Linked DNA regions of Homo sapiens: all the other regions are linked to region 1. The links are contacts of gene promoters, found by promoter capture Hi-C in blood cells and fetal thymus (Javierre and others, 2016). All regions are on one chromosome and are shown on one strand. Each heading gives the region's core, a stretch centred on a gene start or on the middle of the fragment in contact. The rest is flanking DNA. Distances are from core to core; before and after follow the strand shown.

Evidence for each region. Contacts are between HindIII fragments. The CHiCAGO score rates a contact against its expected background, and 5 or more counts as called.
Region 2: a fragment that was not itself captured here is called in contact with the fragment with the promoter of TCP10L in region 1 in 10 of 17 cell types (megakaryocytes, M2 macrophages, endothelial precursors and 7 more); the score reaches 13.2 in megakaryocytes.
Region 3: a contact is called between a fragment that was not itself captured here and the fragment with the promoter of TCP10L in region 1, in 10 of 17 cell types (M2 macrophages, megakaryocytes, M0 macrophages and 7 more). The highest score is 18.4, in M2 macrophages.
Region 4: a contact is called between a fragment that was not itself captured here and the fragment with the promoter of TCP10L in region 1, in 3 of 17 cell types (endothelial precursors, megakaryocytes and M1 macrophages). The highest score is 7.1, in endothelial precursors.
Region 5: a fragment that was not itself captured here is called in contact with the fragment with the promoter of TCP10L in region 1 in 5 of 17 cell types (M2 macrophages, megakaryocytes, M0 macrophages and 2 more); the score reaches 9.2 in M2 macrophages.

The regions. Positions count from the first base shown.
Region 1 is chr21:32,584,104-32,586,803 of GRCh38, reverse strand. TCP10L (t-complex 10 like) reads left to right here and starts at 1,281. Exons shown (of 5, transcript NM_144659.7): 1 at 1,281-1,383; 2 at 2,499-2,643. The coding sequence starts at 2,500. All of the region lies in intron 5 of CFAP298-TCP10L (CFAP298-TCP10L readthrough), which reads left to right. RefSeq lists a silencer at 1,243-1,442 and an enhancer at 2,524-2,700. The HindIII fragment of the contact is 14,271 bases long and covers 1-1,819 here.
Region 2 is chr21:32,414,156-32,416,855 of GRCh38, reverse strand. All of the region lies in intron 1 of EVA1C (eva-1 homolog C), which reads right to left. Among named protein-coding and RNA genes, the nearest start is that of EVA1C, 2.8 kb to the right of the region's middle. The HindIII fragment of the contact is 570 bases long and covers 1,158-1,727 here.
Region 3 is chr21:32,397,271-32,399,970 of GRCh38, reverse strand. No RefSeq gene overlaps it. Among named protein-coding and RNA genes, the nearest start is that of URB1-AS1, 5.5 kb to the right of the region's middle. The HindIII fragment of the contact is 7,568 bases long and covers 1-2,700 here.
Region 4 is chr21:32,349,334-32,352,033 of GRCh38, reverse strand. URB1 (URB1 ribosome biogenesis factor) reads left to right here. Exons shown (of 39, transcript NM_014825.3): 20 at 1,112-1,330; 21 at 2,551-2,700. Among named protein-coding and RNA genes, the nearest start is that of SNORA80A, 27 kb to the left of the region's middle. RefSeq lists an enhancer at 208-317. The HindIII fragment of the contact is 4,143 bases long and covers 1-2,700 here.
Region 5 is chr21:32,367,846-32,370,545 of GRCh38, reverse strand. URB1 (URB1 ribosome biogenesis factor) reads left to right here. Exons shown (of 39, transcript NM_014825.3): 9 at 1,948-2,143. Among named protein-coding and RNA genes, the nearest start is that of SNORA80A, 8.1 kb to the left of the region's middle. The HindIII fragment of the contact is 4,072 bases long and covers 1-2,700 here.

The DNA of each region.
Region 1 (2,700 bases), core at 32-2,531:
ACCCACACACCTCAGGCTCATACACACAAGCCCTCACACACCTCAGGAATCCACACACAACCCCTCACACACCTCAGGGTCTCACACACAATGTTGACACACCTCAGGGTCTCATACACAAACCCTCACACACCTCAGGACCCACACAATTCATCACACTTCTCAGGACACACATAAAACCCCTCACACACCTCAGGGGCCCATACATAACCCCTCACACACCTCAGGACTCACACACAATCCTCTCACACACCTCAGGACTCACACAACCTCTCACACACCTTAGGACCCACACACAACCACTCACACACCTTAGGACCCACACACAACCTCTCACACACCTTAGGACCCACACACAACCACTCACACACCTTAGGACCCACACACAACCTCTCACACACCTCAGGGACCCACACACAACCACTCACACACCTCAGGACCCACACACACCTCATACACCTCAGGGACACACACAACCCCTCACATACCTCAGAAACCTATATAAACTCTCACACACTTCAGGACAAACATACAACCTCTCACGCACCTCAGGACACACACACACACACTCGCACACCTCAGGACACACACACACACTCTCACAGTTAGAATGACACATGGGGACAAAAGTGCCTTCTGTTTCCTCTTTGTAGTATTCTCTTCATTCATTCATGACGTCGGCATTTACTGCCTATTGCATGCGAATCGCTTGCAGAACTATCCAAGTGACACACGTCCCAAGCAGGCTCAGGTGAGCCCCAGGTGTATGTTGTCCACACGCAGCACCATGGATGAGAAGGACAGCCAGGGTTTAACAGGAATATCGACTCTTGCTTGCTCCTCATTCTCTTCTCTATCACAAAAATCACACGGACAATTCAGATGGAGATGCATTTAGTGAAATGATGAAACTTTGAATCCTGTCTCCTATTTAAACTCACATATATTATTTTCCCTTCATAAAAATGTTTTTTCTAGTAAATAATTTGATATCCGAAGAAAGTTTGTATTTCTCCAAGAATGTATGCTCAGAGAAATGAGCTCTTACTACACGTTGCGTATTGAAGACTGGATATAAAACACATGGTTTTTGTCAATTTGGAGGAGTAGTTTGACTCTCTCCAATGTCCTTTGTGGATGGATGGACTCCACTGACGATGAGCTTCTATATTAAGAATTGCAGGTTTGGGGATGTTTAATTATTATCTGAGCTGGTACAGTGGTGACGCTGAGTGAGACGTTCATGTCCCTTTAAGACAGAAAGTCCGTTGGAACTGTCCGCTGCTCTCTGGTCTCTGGATATGAGGCAGGAGGGCTTGGGGACAACTGTGGGGACATGGCCCAGATGATCTGATCCTGGCAGTAGTGACTGTTGGGGACCAGGTGAGGTGACGAGGTCTGGTGGTGGGGCTGAAGGAAAGGGTCTTCCCTGGACTGAGGGGGTCATGAGTTTGGGGCCGAGGACACTGGGGTGTCCCCTCAGAGGAGCAGGAAAGAAGGAGCTTTCTCAGGGCTGTGAGGACCGTGACCCCAGCCCACTTCCGCAGAAACATTCCCAGTCTCCGCGGGGAAGGAATGGCAGTGATCTGGTTACTGGTAGGTCTTGCTCTAGACCTTCGATTCGCTTCCATCAGGAGACTCTCTTTTAAATAGCATTTCTCCGATCACTGTGGTTAAACTGTTCCTTCTCACACAGTTAGAAGTTTATGAATTAAACAGTCGGGGTTTCGTTGGGGGCCACTGGCTTCCTAAAACGGACAGGGCAAGGCAGGGGTGGAGGCAGCTTTCAGAGACGACCCTGCAGGCTTGCAGGAAAGCTTTGCGTTTTTCTCTTTCGTTTTTGTTCTCTAATTGCTGTGAACTTCCTAGAACTGGCATAAATGCTGTACCTATAAAAAGGTGTTTCCTTTCCACATCTTCACCATGAATTCACAAATGTCACCCTGATGGTTCAAGACACATACTCAACACGGTGGAGGGTCTGCCTGTGCCCCTCCAGGTGGGTGCTGATTAAAGGGCTGAGAATTCCCTCGGTGTCTCATGCGACCCTCCACTCACACCTGCTCACACCCTGAGACCATTCCACTCACACCTGCTCATACCCCAAGACCATCGTGCTCACATCCGCTCACATCCATTCACATTCCGCTCATATCCTGCTCACAACCCACTCACATCCCACTCACACCGGCTCACACCCCACTCACACCCCTCTTTGGATGACTGGAGTGTGTTAGGTGTCAGGCTGATCTTCTAGGATCTAAAGCATTTTCCACGGAGGATGGTGGAGAGCCAGGTGTGGACAGCTCAGTCCCTCTGTCTGTGGTGTCCTTTCACCTGGTCAGCTTCGGGCCTGGGAATGTGCACATGACCCAGGGGGAGAAGGAGCGGCTGCGGGTCCTGCTCACCCTTAGTTTGGGGCTGGGGCCTTCAGCCCACACTGACGGGGTAGGAGGGCTGCATTCAAGTGTCCCCATAGCCCTTCCCTTCCCAACCAGGATGCTGGCAGGTCAACTCGAGGCCAGGGACCCCAAAGAGGGCACCCACCCAGAGGACCCGTGCCCAGGAGCTGGGGCTGTCATGGAGAAGACAGCTGTGGCAGCCGAGGTTCTCACGGAGGACTGCAACACTGGGGAGATGCCAGTGAGTTGAGCTCTGTGGGGACAGAGTTAGTCCCACCAGGCGGGACCCTGATTCCTG
Region 2 (2,700 bases), core at 193-2,692, 170 kb after region 1:
CTACTTCTCACATTCACCACTATGTGCCCTAGGACAAAATCAAATGTGGAAACATTTGGTCATGTCTACTTTGTCCAAGGGTGGGAGTTCTTGAGGAATTCAAGTGGGAACTAGAACAACTTTCTACCCTTTCCTTCCCTTCCTTCCTCCCCACCTCTACCTAGAAGCCCATCAATCACTTTGAACTTCTTGGAGAAAAAAGGAAACAAAAGAAAAAGAAAAGGAGAGGCTGGGTGCGGTGGCTCATGCCTATAATCCCAGCACATTGGGAGGCCAAGGTGGGTGGATCACTTGAGGTCAGGAGTTCGAGACCAGCCTGGCCAAAATGGTGAAAACATGTCTCTACTAAAAATACAAAAATTAGCTGGGTGTGGTGGTGGGTGCCCATAATCCCAGCTACTCAGGAGGCTGAGGCAGGAGAGTTGCTTGAACCTGGGAGGCAGAGGTTGCAGTGAGCCGAGACTGTACCACTGCACTCCAGCCTGGGCAACAGAGTGAAACTGCGTCTCAAAAAGAAAAAAAAAAAAAAAAAAAGAAAAAGAAAAAGAAAAGGAGAGAAAGGAAAGAAGCAGGGAGGAAAGAGAAGACCCAGCTTACCTTCAGCAGAGAAACAACACAAATTAGAAGCACACACACACACACACACACAAAACAGTAAGTACTGAGGGACCATCACAAACTAAATACAAGAGACACACTGAAACACCACTCTTTAAGGCAAAAATATGAGGATCCCTTGCTTTTTATGGCTGCTACTCAAGAGGGCACCCCTCCCTCCTCTCAGCACTCATCCTCAAGCTCCAGCTCCCTGTCTTGTTCTCTGAACAAAGAACTATGGGCATAGCATTATACTTCTGGGGTTTGTTTTGTTTTTTAAGTCAATGATGAATTTAGACGTCTCAAGCCAAATCCTCAATTTGAGAATGCAGTCAAATGAAGAGAACTCTATCCCAAAGAGGAAAGTGGATGAAAGCCAAGCACATTTGAGTATGAGATTAAGGATCAGAGGCACTAATTTTGCATGAACTTCTCTTGCCTTCGCTGGGATTCATTTTTAATGCAGTGATGATAGCCTTCCAGTGGCCGCTGGCGACATCTCAAAATCTTTGGAGATGAGAGAGAAGGCGGTGTTTGGGGAGCCTGTTTACTAGCAAGCTTGGAGGTGATTAGAACAAGTCACGAGCATGGACAGGGAGGAGGAGGGGGCCATGATGCTGCCTCTGGCTTATTAAGAGTGAGATCGATGCTGGAATCCCTGAGGGCAAAAAAAAATCAATGACCCAGGAAAACGACACCAGCTGACAGCCCCAGGAAAAGGCTCAAGGAAGAGCCGCAAAGAAGAGAAAGGCTTAAGGAACTTTCCAAAACTCTGCACTGCTAATCTCCTGGGGGGAGAAAGGGGCCTATATTGTACAGACAATGGCTGGGACCCCTGACATTCTGGCACTTTCTTTCACATGGATACACCATCCTCCCTCCTCCTTCACAGGGCAGAGGGATCCCAAGTTTCCTCTATCCTCTGCTAGTTTTTGATGTTCCCTTTATTTAGAAAAACAGGCAAGTATCTGCATTGTCAAACACTGCTCTCTAGCCCTGGTTATTGTGATCAGGCTCTGCAGGGGAGGATCCACTGTCTCCTTCCAGGCCTCAGTTTTGGTTTCTATGCACTCCTTCAAGTTCATAAAAAGGAACAGGACCGACTGTCCCAGGAACACAGGCGGCAAGCTTTGAGGCCACATGGGGTTCGCGTCAGCTGAAACACTGAACCGAACAATAAGATGGTCATCTTTGGAGCTTAGGAATTTGCAGAGGGAGGGCGGCTAAAATCCAAGTCAAATGAGCCAACTTTGGAAGATGATCTTTCTTTCTCCCTGAGATTTTTCTAATATTTCCCTGACCTCACATGATATAGAATTAAGGTTTAAATTTAAGTGCATCAGTGGTTTGGGAGGACATTATATTTCCTTTCTTCTCCCCAAAAGGCTTCTGACATGTTCTGCCTAATCTTCAGATCTCTGGAGAGCATCACTGATGAGAGGAAAAATGGGGGCTCGTTGTGGGTGGCAATATCACCACCTACTGCTGGCTCAGGGAGTTTGAAACCCTGGAATTTAGGTTCGTATGGAAAGCAGAAGAAAATGCCTTTTATCATTTATACTATTTAGAATAACATGTATCAAATCATTCATTTTACTAAGGAGTTGATAGCTCAACTCCACTGTATGTAACAGTTGCTAGATACAGACAATTCCAAACTTGGGTGGTAATCTATAGACTGTTACAAGTATTGCAACTGCTTCCCTAAAGCAACAGAACTCTAAGTGTCTATAATCTGTGAAAACAATCTAATGGTTACACTGCAATTTGCCTAAAGCAATATTTGTTCAGTTGCAATGATGTCACAAACACAAAAAGGCTTGTCAGTTTTCAATTATTTCCTTAGAATTCAGAGCTAGATGGTGGCTGAACTCAGAACTGCTTTCCATAGCTCAAATCAGCTAATACAGAGCTTTTCTAGCAGCCAAGAAAGTTCTAGTAGTACAAAAAAAAAAGTTAATAGCCCTTGAAAAGTCTGATGCATTTCCCCACAACTCTTACCACAGAGTTCTGATCCTGGGATGCTTGATTTTAAGGGCCGTGGGTGGCTTGCCAAATAGGCCTTATCTTGGCTTCCTTTGCTAGGTAGGAATACTGCCTTGA
Region 3 (2,700 bases), core at 83-2,582, 190 kb after region 1:
AATGACAGTATCATGACACTGGCAGTCAGCTACCCCTGGAGATCTGTGGTTCCAAATTGCTCCCCAACAGGGGAAGAAATGTCCCAACCTCCCAATGAGAACTGCAAAGTCAAATTGCAAAGGGGCATGAATTCCAGGGTGGGAGGAATTTGTGACCATATTTTGTAATCTACCACACCACCCTTCTCCCACTGATTTTGGTGTTGTCTTGATCACATATCACATTTCTATAATGGTCTCCAGGTTCATCTATGTTGTCAAAAATATCAAGATTTCCTTCTTTTTTTTAAGGCTGAATAATATTTCATTGTATACTAAATACCGCATTTTTTTTTAACCCATTGATTTGTCGATAGGCATTTAGGTTGCTTCTGTAAATTGGCGATTATGAATAATGCTGCAATGAACAGGGAGTGCAAATATCCCTTCAATAACCTTATTTCAATTATTCTGGGTGTCTGCTGAGTGAAAGAAGCCAGTTACAGAAGGACAGGACTCATAAGCAGTACCTAAAATAGTCAAACTCATAGAAGCAGAGAATAGAATGGTGGTTACCAGGAGCCAGGAGGTAATTCATCAAATCATATACAGTAAATATGTGCCATTAGACTGCATATCAGTTATACCTTAATAAAGCTGTTTCAAAATTAAAAATAAAAAGTTCCTATCTATGCATAGGTCTTTGTTTTAACTACACTTTTCTCTTTCTTTTTTTCTTTCTTTCTTTTCTTCTTTCCTTCCTTCCTTCTTTCTTTTTTTTGAGACAGGGTCTCACTTTGTTGCCCAGGCTGGAGTGCAGTGGCACGATCTTGGCTCACTGCAACCTCCACCTCCTGGGTTCAAGTGATCCTCCTGTCTCAGTCTCCCCAGTAGTTGGGGTTACAGGCATGTACCACCACGCCCAGGTACTTTTTGTACTTTTAGTAGAGACGAGGTTTCACCATGTTGGCTGAGCTGGTCTCGAACTCCTGACCTCAAGTGATCCATCCACCTCAGCCTCCCAAAGTGCTGGGATTACAGGTGTGAGCCACTGTGCCTGGCCTTGACTACACTTTTTATTTTGAAATGATTCTAGATTTGCAGAACATTTGAAAAAAATTCCATACACTCTCAGCCAGTTTCATCTGATGTTTTACATTTCTCACGGTTGTAGGGTACATTTGCTAACTAAGCAACCAGCATTGGGACGTTACTATTAACTAAACGCCAGACTTTATTTTATTTGCGCTGTACTAGTTTTTCCCCTTCTGGCCTTTTTCTGCTCCAGGGTCCAGTCCAGGGTACCACAGTGCATTTTATCATTGTGTCTCCCATCACATCTGGTCTGTGGTCGTGTTTCAGTTCTTCATTGCTTTTCATGACCTCGACAGTTTTAAAGGGTACTGCTCATGTACTTTTTAGACTGTCCCTCAATTTAGGTTTCTCTGATGTTTTCCACACAATTGGGCTGGGATTTTGGGTTTCGGGAAGGATATACAGAGGCAAAGCATCTTCATCACATCACTTCAGGGGTACATCACAGTAACATGATTTATACATGACATTAACTTTGATCCCTTGGATAAGGTAGTGTTTGCCATGCTTCTCTATTATAGAGTTATCATTTTTCCCTCGTCATATTCCAGTATTTAAAAGTAGGTCACTAAACCTACACTAGGGAAGTGGGGAGGAGTATTTGAATTAAGCTCCACCTCTGGAAGCAGGAAGTATCTACATGTATTATTTGGATTACTTTTGTAAGGAAGATTTATCTCTTCTCCCCCATTTATTTACTTAGCAATCAATTTATTTTTATTTTATTATTATTATTTCTTTTAGAGATGAGGTCTTGCTAAACTGTTGCCCAGGATGGACCCAAACTCCTGGGCTCCAGTGATCTTCCTGTCTCAGCCTCCCAAGGTGCTAGGATTACAGGCATGAGCCATCATGCCTGGTGATCATCATTTTTTATATCAGTATAGACTTACATATATTTACTTTTTACCCTAGGTTATAATCCAATGCTATATTATTCATTTTGTCACCGAAACTGTTCCATTGGGAGTTCTTTCAAGTTGGTTCCTGTGACTCTTTGACATAGCTCCATTCTTTTGTTTTTGAAGCATTTCTTACTTTCTGGTACTACAAGATACTCCACACTCACCTTATGTGTTCCCTGTCCCAGCCCTAGAATCAGCCATTTCTCTAAGGAGTCCTGGTTCTTTTTATTTTTATATTTTTATTGTGTGTTTTTTTTTCTTTTTTCTTTTCTCTTTTTTTTTTTTTTTTTTTTGAGATGGAGTCTCACTCTGTCACCCAGGCTGGAGTGCAGCGGCACAAACTTGGCTCACTGCAACCTCCGCCTCCCTGGTTCAAGCAATTCTCCTGCCTCAGTGTCCTGAGTAGCGGGGATTACGGGTGCATGACACCACACCCAGCTAATTTTTGTATTTTTGATAGAGATGGGGGTTTTGCCATGTTGGCCAAGCTGGTCTCGAACTTCTGACCTCAGGTGATCCACCTACCTTGGCCTCCCAAGATATTGGGATTGCAGGCATAAACCACCACACCCACCCTGGTTCCTTTTATTTGATAATGGTATTAGAAACCAAGATCTGGGCACTGAGTGTGCTCATTGCTTCTGGGGTGTGACTGCTTCTAGGCCCTACCAGTGAACAGAGCTAGGAAATATATGCTTGTGTACAAACCCAGGTAGAATAT
Region 4 (2,700 bases), core at 53-2,552, 230 kb after region 1:
GGCATACCGGGTCCTGTACTAAGTGTACTATGTGTATTTTTGGCCGTTTAATCCTTACTGTAACTCTGAGAAGTAGGCCGGGACTCTCACCATCCTTTATGCATATGGGGAAACCGAGGCCCAGAGCGGTTCCAACACCAGTCAGTGGCGGAGTCAGGATTTGGCCCAGGCAGTCTGGCTCCAGAGCCCTGACCCATAATGTTGCCACCTTCCCCCACACGTAGGCCACAGTGATAGCCAGACAGCAACTTATGTGGCAGTATTAGAGGTTCTGTCCTGCCCCTCGTGGTTGCTTGGAGTGGGTGTCCACCTTCTGTGGAATAAGACTTAGCAGTGGTTCTCACCCTCCAGGGTGTGTCGGAATTCCCCAGAGGGCCTTTTCAAACTGGACTGCCGGGTTCCAGCCACAGTGTCTGGCCCGGCAGGTCTGGGTGGAGCCTGAGAATTTGCATTTCACACATGCTGCTGCAGGCCTGGGGAACACTGACAACCACCAAGTTTCAGGGCATGTTACAGCCTTGGGTTTTATTAGCCTAAGGAAGTCAAATGGAATTATAGCAACATAAGCCACGTGGAGTAAATAAAGAAGGCAGCTTGGTAGTAATGTTAGAAGAAATGAATAACTTCAGTTTGAGGCAGAAGGGCTCCAGAAATTTCTCTGTGTTCTGCCCATCTTCTGTCCTTCTAACAAGATATTCGACCCGCAGCTCCTGGGGAAGGTCTTCCGAAGGCAGGCCACTCGCAGAGCGGGCTTCTCTGTGGGCTGATTTCCCCCTTTCTAGTGATTCTTGTGATTCACATCCTGCCTCTGTCACACGTGGCTCCTGCCTGTGGGACAGGCTTCTGCCTTGTTCTCCAAGGGGTGTAGATGCAGCATGAATTTGGGCCTTCACATGTGGTCAGTGGAAACGCTCTAGGAAAGTACGCATGACATGGTACGAGAACTTACTCTACTGAAGTAAAATGCCACACGGTCCCGTATTCGTTAGTCTTATCTCAGCATGTGCTTCTTTGTGAAATGTCCGTTTGTTGTGTGTTACCTGTGCCTATGACCGTTTTCATCTGTGGTGATGTGTCTTTCTCTTCCCCGGCCTTTTGCTGTCTCCCTCAGCTGCTGCAGGCACAGGGCAGCCCCTCGCCCCCTGCCCTTCCCTTGGCCTCGTCCTTCACAGCCCTGCTGCAGGCAGCCTACGAGAGCCAAGCGCTTCGGGACGAGCACATCCAGGTGCAGCTGCAGGCCACCATGCCACACCTGTCCATGCAGCAGGTCCTGCTCGCGGCCAAGCAGGTGTTGCTCTACCTGCGGAGCACTGTGGAGAACTTCGGCCAGGTCAGCGTTGCCCCCATCCTCCACAGGCTTCAGAGCTCTGCCACCAGAGAGCTAAGCCTTCTCTGAGTCGGGCCCACAGCCCAGCACACTCTTGCTCCCTGGAACTCACTGCAGAGGCAGTTTAAGTGCTGTTCTGTCCAGACCTCAGCTGCAAACTCTTCATGTCCCTCAGCCCTGCCCATGGGAGCCAGGTCAGCCTGACTTTGTTTTCAGGGCAGCCTGGTCAAGACAGAGCCCTTCCTACAGTAGAATGGGTTGGCAGCCCTGCCGGGCCTTTGTTTTTTTTGTCACCAAGTCTGGAGTGCAGTGGCGCATCATAGCTCACTACAGCCTTGACCTCAGTGGACTCAAGCCACCCTCCAACCTCTCAGCCTTTCAAGTAGCTGGGACTACAGGCATGCACCACCATTCCCAGCTAATTTTTGTGTTTTTTGAAGAGATGGGTTCTCACCATGTTGGTCAGGCTGGTCTCAAACTCCTGGGCTCACAGTGATCTGCCTGCCTCAGCCTCCCACAGTGCTGGGATTGCAGGCATGAGCCACCGCACCCAGCCCTCCCTCCCTCTTTTTTTTTTTTTTCTGAGACAGAGTTTCGCTCTTGTTGCCCAGGATGGAGTGCAATGGCAGGATCTTGGCTCACTGCAACCTCTGCCTCCCGGGTTCAAGCTGTTGAACCCTCAACAGCAACCCTCAGCTCACTGCAACCGTCAGCCTCCCTAGTAGCTGGGATAACAAGTGCACACCAACACGCCTGGCTAATTTTTGTATTTTTAGTAGAGATGGGGTTTCGCCATGTTGGCCAGGCTGGTCTTGAACTCCTGACCTCAGGTGATATACCCGCCACAGCCTCCCGAAGTGCTGGGATTACAGGCGTGAGCCACTGAGCCTGGCCCAGCCCTCCCTCTTAAGTGTATTAATTTAGTAACTGGCTGATGAATTTCTGTTCCTGATGTGGTTCAAGGGATTTTTAAGTTTTGAGGTGGGCCTGTCCCTTTCAGTTTAGTCAAAACAACCTTTGTGTTTCACCAAGGCTTAGGAAGACACATCTCTTATTTGAGAAATGGCATTGCATTGATGGGTGTCTCACACACTCTGTGAGGAGTTGCCATCTCAGCCTGCCTCCCGAGTCTCCTGCTCTGAAAACACGGGCCCTGGAAGTCACTGCCTGGTAGCTGTGAACCCGTCTCTTCCCTGCTGAGGCTCGTGCTCTTGTCCTCACAGCTGGGCAGAAGTGTGGGCCCGCCCCTCCTGCAGCTCTTCCTGGATCTCCTCAGGCGCCTGGTTGTCCACTGTGAGCAGCTGGATGCCCAGAACCAGCAGAGATGCGAGGCCGCCCGGGCCGAAGCCGACCTCTTCCTGGACATGGAGTCC
Region 5 (2,700 bases), core at 127-2,626, 220 kb after region 1:
TGCTTAGAGCAGTGTCTGGCATGTGTTGTGCACTACATAAATATTAATGCTCTCCATTTTATTACGTTGTTGATTAAAATAAAGCATGTGTAGTATTTTTAGCACTCTTTGTAGATTTAATATCCTTTTCATTTGACAGTACAAACTATTTTGTTCATGACATTTTCATATTAGGAAAGGATATTTTCATGTCCTTTTTTAAAGGATAGTTTTTCTGATCAAAATTATACTTTCTAATTTGGTTTTTAAAAAACTTTTTTTACTATATGTAAAGCTCTCATATAGCATTGTAGTTTTACTCAATTTATAAGGGGGATGTGAGACACCGGGGACCCTAGAAACCATCACTGTGTCGTGCACATGAGACAGAGTCTGAGGATTTTCTGGATGTTTTGACTTCACAGGGTCAAGCAGATAGGAAAGGGCATATTTTCTAAAAAGACTTTGAAGCAGATGAAGCCTAGTGTCCTGGGGCTTTGGCTGTGTGGATCCTGGGATTTTACTCCCTTTATGCAAGTTTTAGTCTCTGCAGACTTTCCTGCTTCTTACTTTTTTTTTTTTTTTTTTTTTGAGATGGAGACTCGCTCTGTTGTTCAGGATGGAAGGCAGTGGCACAGTCGTAGGTTACTGCAGCCTTGAAGTCCTGGGCTCACCTGCTTTTATTATCTTTTCATACCTTTGAAGACTGTCCACTTTGAGATAACTTTTCAGTATTTTTCTACGGTAGATTTTTTCCACATCCTAGCTTCTTTCATCTGCTAAATGAAAATGAAGGAATTTGAAATAAGCTAGAAACAGGGAAGGCAGAAGGTCCATGCAAAGACCTCGTGCTGTCTTGTCAGATTTCTTGTCAAGAAATAATTTAATGGCGCTCTGGACCATGCAGCAACTCATGAGCAGTTCGTATAAAAAAAACTTTATTTCCAGATGTGGTGGTGTGCACCTCTAGTCCCAGCTACCCAGGAGGCTGAGGCAGGAGGGTCACTTGAACCCAGGAATTCGAGGCTGCAGTGAGCTATGGTCACGCCACTGCATTCTGGGTGACAGAGCAAGACCCTGTCTCTGAAGAAATAATAAAAAATTTTAAAAATTAAAACAAATCCCCCTTTCAAGAGAAAAATGTCTTATCTGCATTTTTTTACACTCACACTCACATATGTATTTACATAGTGCTGTTTTTTTCAGATGGAGTCTTACTCTGTCACCCAGGCTGGAAGTGCAGTGGTGCAATCTCAGCTCACTGCAACCTCCACCTCTCAGGTTCAAGCAATTCTTCTGCCTCAGCCTCCTGAGTAGCTAGGACTATAGGCAGGCACCACCATGCCTGGCTAATTTTTTTGTGTTTTTAATAGAGATAGGGTTTCACTATGTTGACCAAGCCAACATAGTTCAAGGCCAAGGTCTTGAACTCCTGACCTCAGGTGATCCTCCCACCTTGGCCTCCCAAAGTGCTGGGATTACAGTTGTGAGTACCACAGCCAGCCCTACATAGTGCTTTTTTTGTGTGTGGCTGGAGGAGGAACGTCAGTAAAATCTCAAAATGAAATTTGGGGCATGGATTCCTCCCTGCTGGTTTTGTCCTTTCTTTTCAGTAGCCTTGACTTCTAGGCAGACTGGTAGGTGGCTGAGGTAGAGCGAGAGAGAATGGTTTTCTTCCTTTTCTTTAGAAAGCAAATTGAACTCAAGGGAGGGAAGTAGGAAAGAAGAAAGATCGCAGGACAGAGACTTTTTCAGCCACTCAGAAGTAGAGGATGAGAGGGAAGCCCTCTGTGGAGAGCTGGAACCCCCAGGCCACGGAACCCCCACTTTACGTCCTGGGGGAAATTCCCTACGTTGTTATTGCTGTGTTCACTGAGGGCAATTCTGCAGAGCTGCACGTCACCATGAGCTCTCAGGGTGCTTTGACCATTTTCTGCTGACCTCTCCCCATGTGTCTTTCTCTAACAGAGGCGGAAACCTGACACTCTTGCACTTCTTGCTGGGTTTGAAAACTGCAGCTGATGATGATCTGGTGGCTGACCTTGTGGTAAACATCCTCAAAGTGTGCCCGGACTTACTGAACAAATACTTCAAGGAAGTAACGTTTTCCTTTATCCCACGAGCGAAGTCTACTTGGTTAAATAATATCAAACTACTAAACAAGGTAAAAAAACATGATATTTAAAAGTCTGTTAGCTAAGCTGGGCGTGGTGGCTCATGCCTGTAATCCCAGCACTTCGGGAGGCCGAGGCAGGCGGATTACCTGAGGTCAGGAGTTTGAGACCAGCCTGGCCAACGTGACGAAACCTGTCTCTTACTAAAAATACAAAAATTAACTGGGTGTGGTGGTGTGCGCCTGTAATCCCAGGTACTTGGGAGCCTGAGACAGGAGAATTACTTGAACCTGGGAGGCGGAGGTTGCAGTGAGCTGAGATCGCGCCACTGCACTCCAGCCTGGGTGACAGAGCGAGACTCCATCTCAAAAAAATAAGTCTGTTAGCTAGGTAGGGGGGCATAGGGAGTTAGGGGACAGGCAGACATTCTCATCTGGTAAACTATACAATATGAAGACCTTTCAGGGATAAAAAGGGATATTTTAGACCATGTAAATTTGGTGTCCTTATCTTCTATAGCGTTTTGCCTTTCACTGAGCTGAATTTGAGGTTTATTTAGAATCTTTTGAGCCAATTTATCCTGTTCATCAAGATTTTGCTTAGAGTG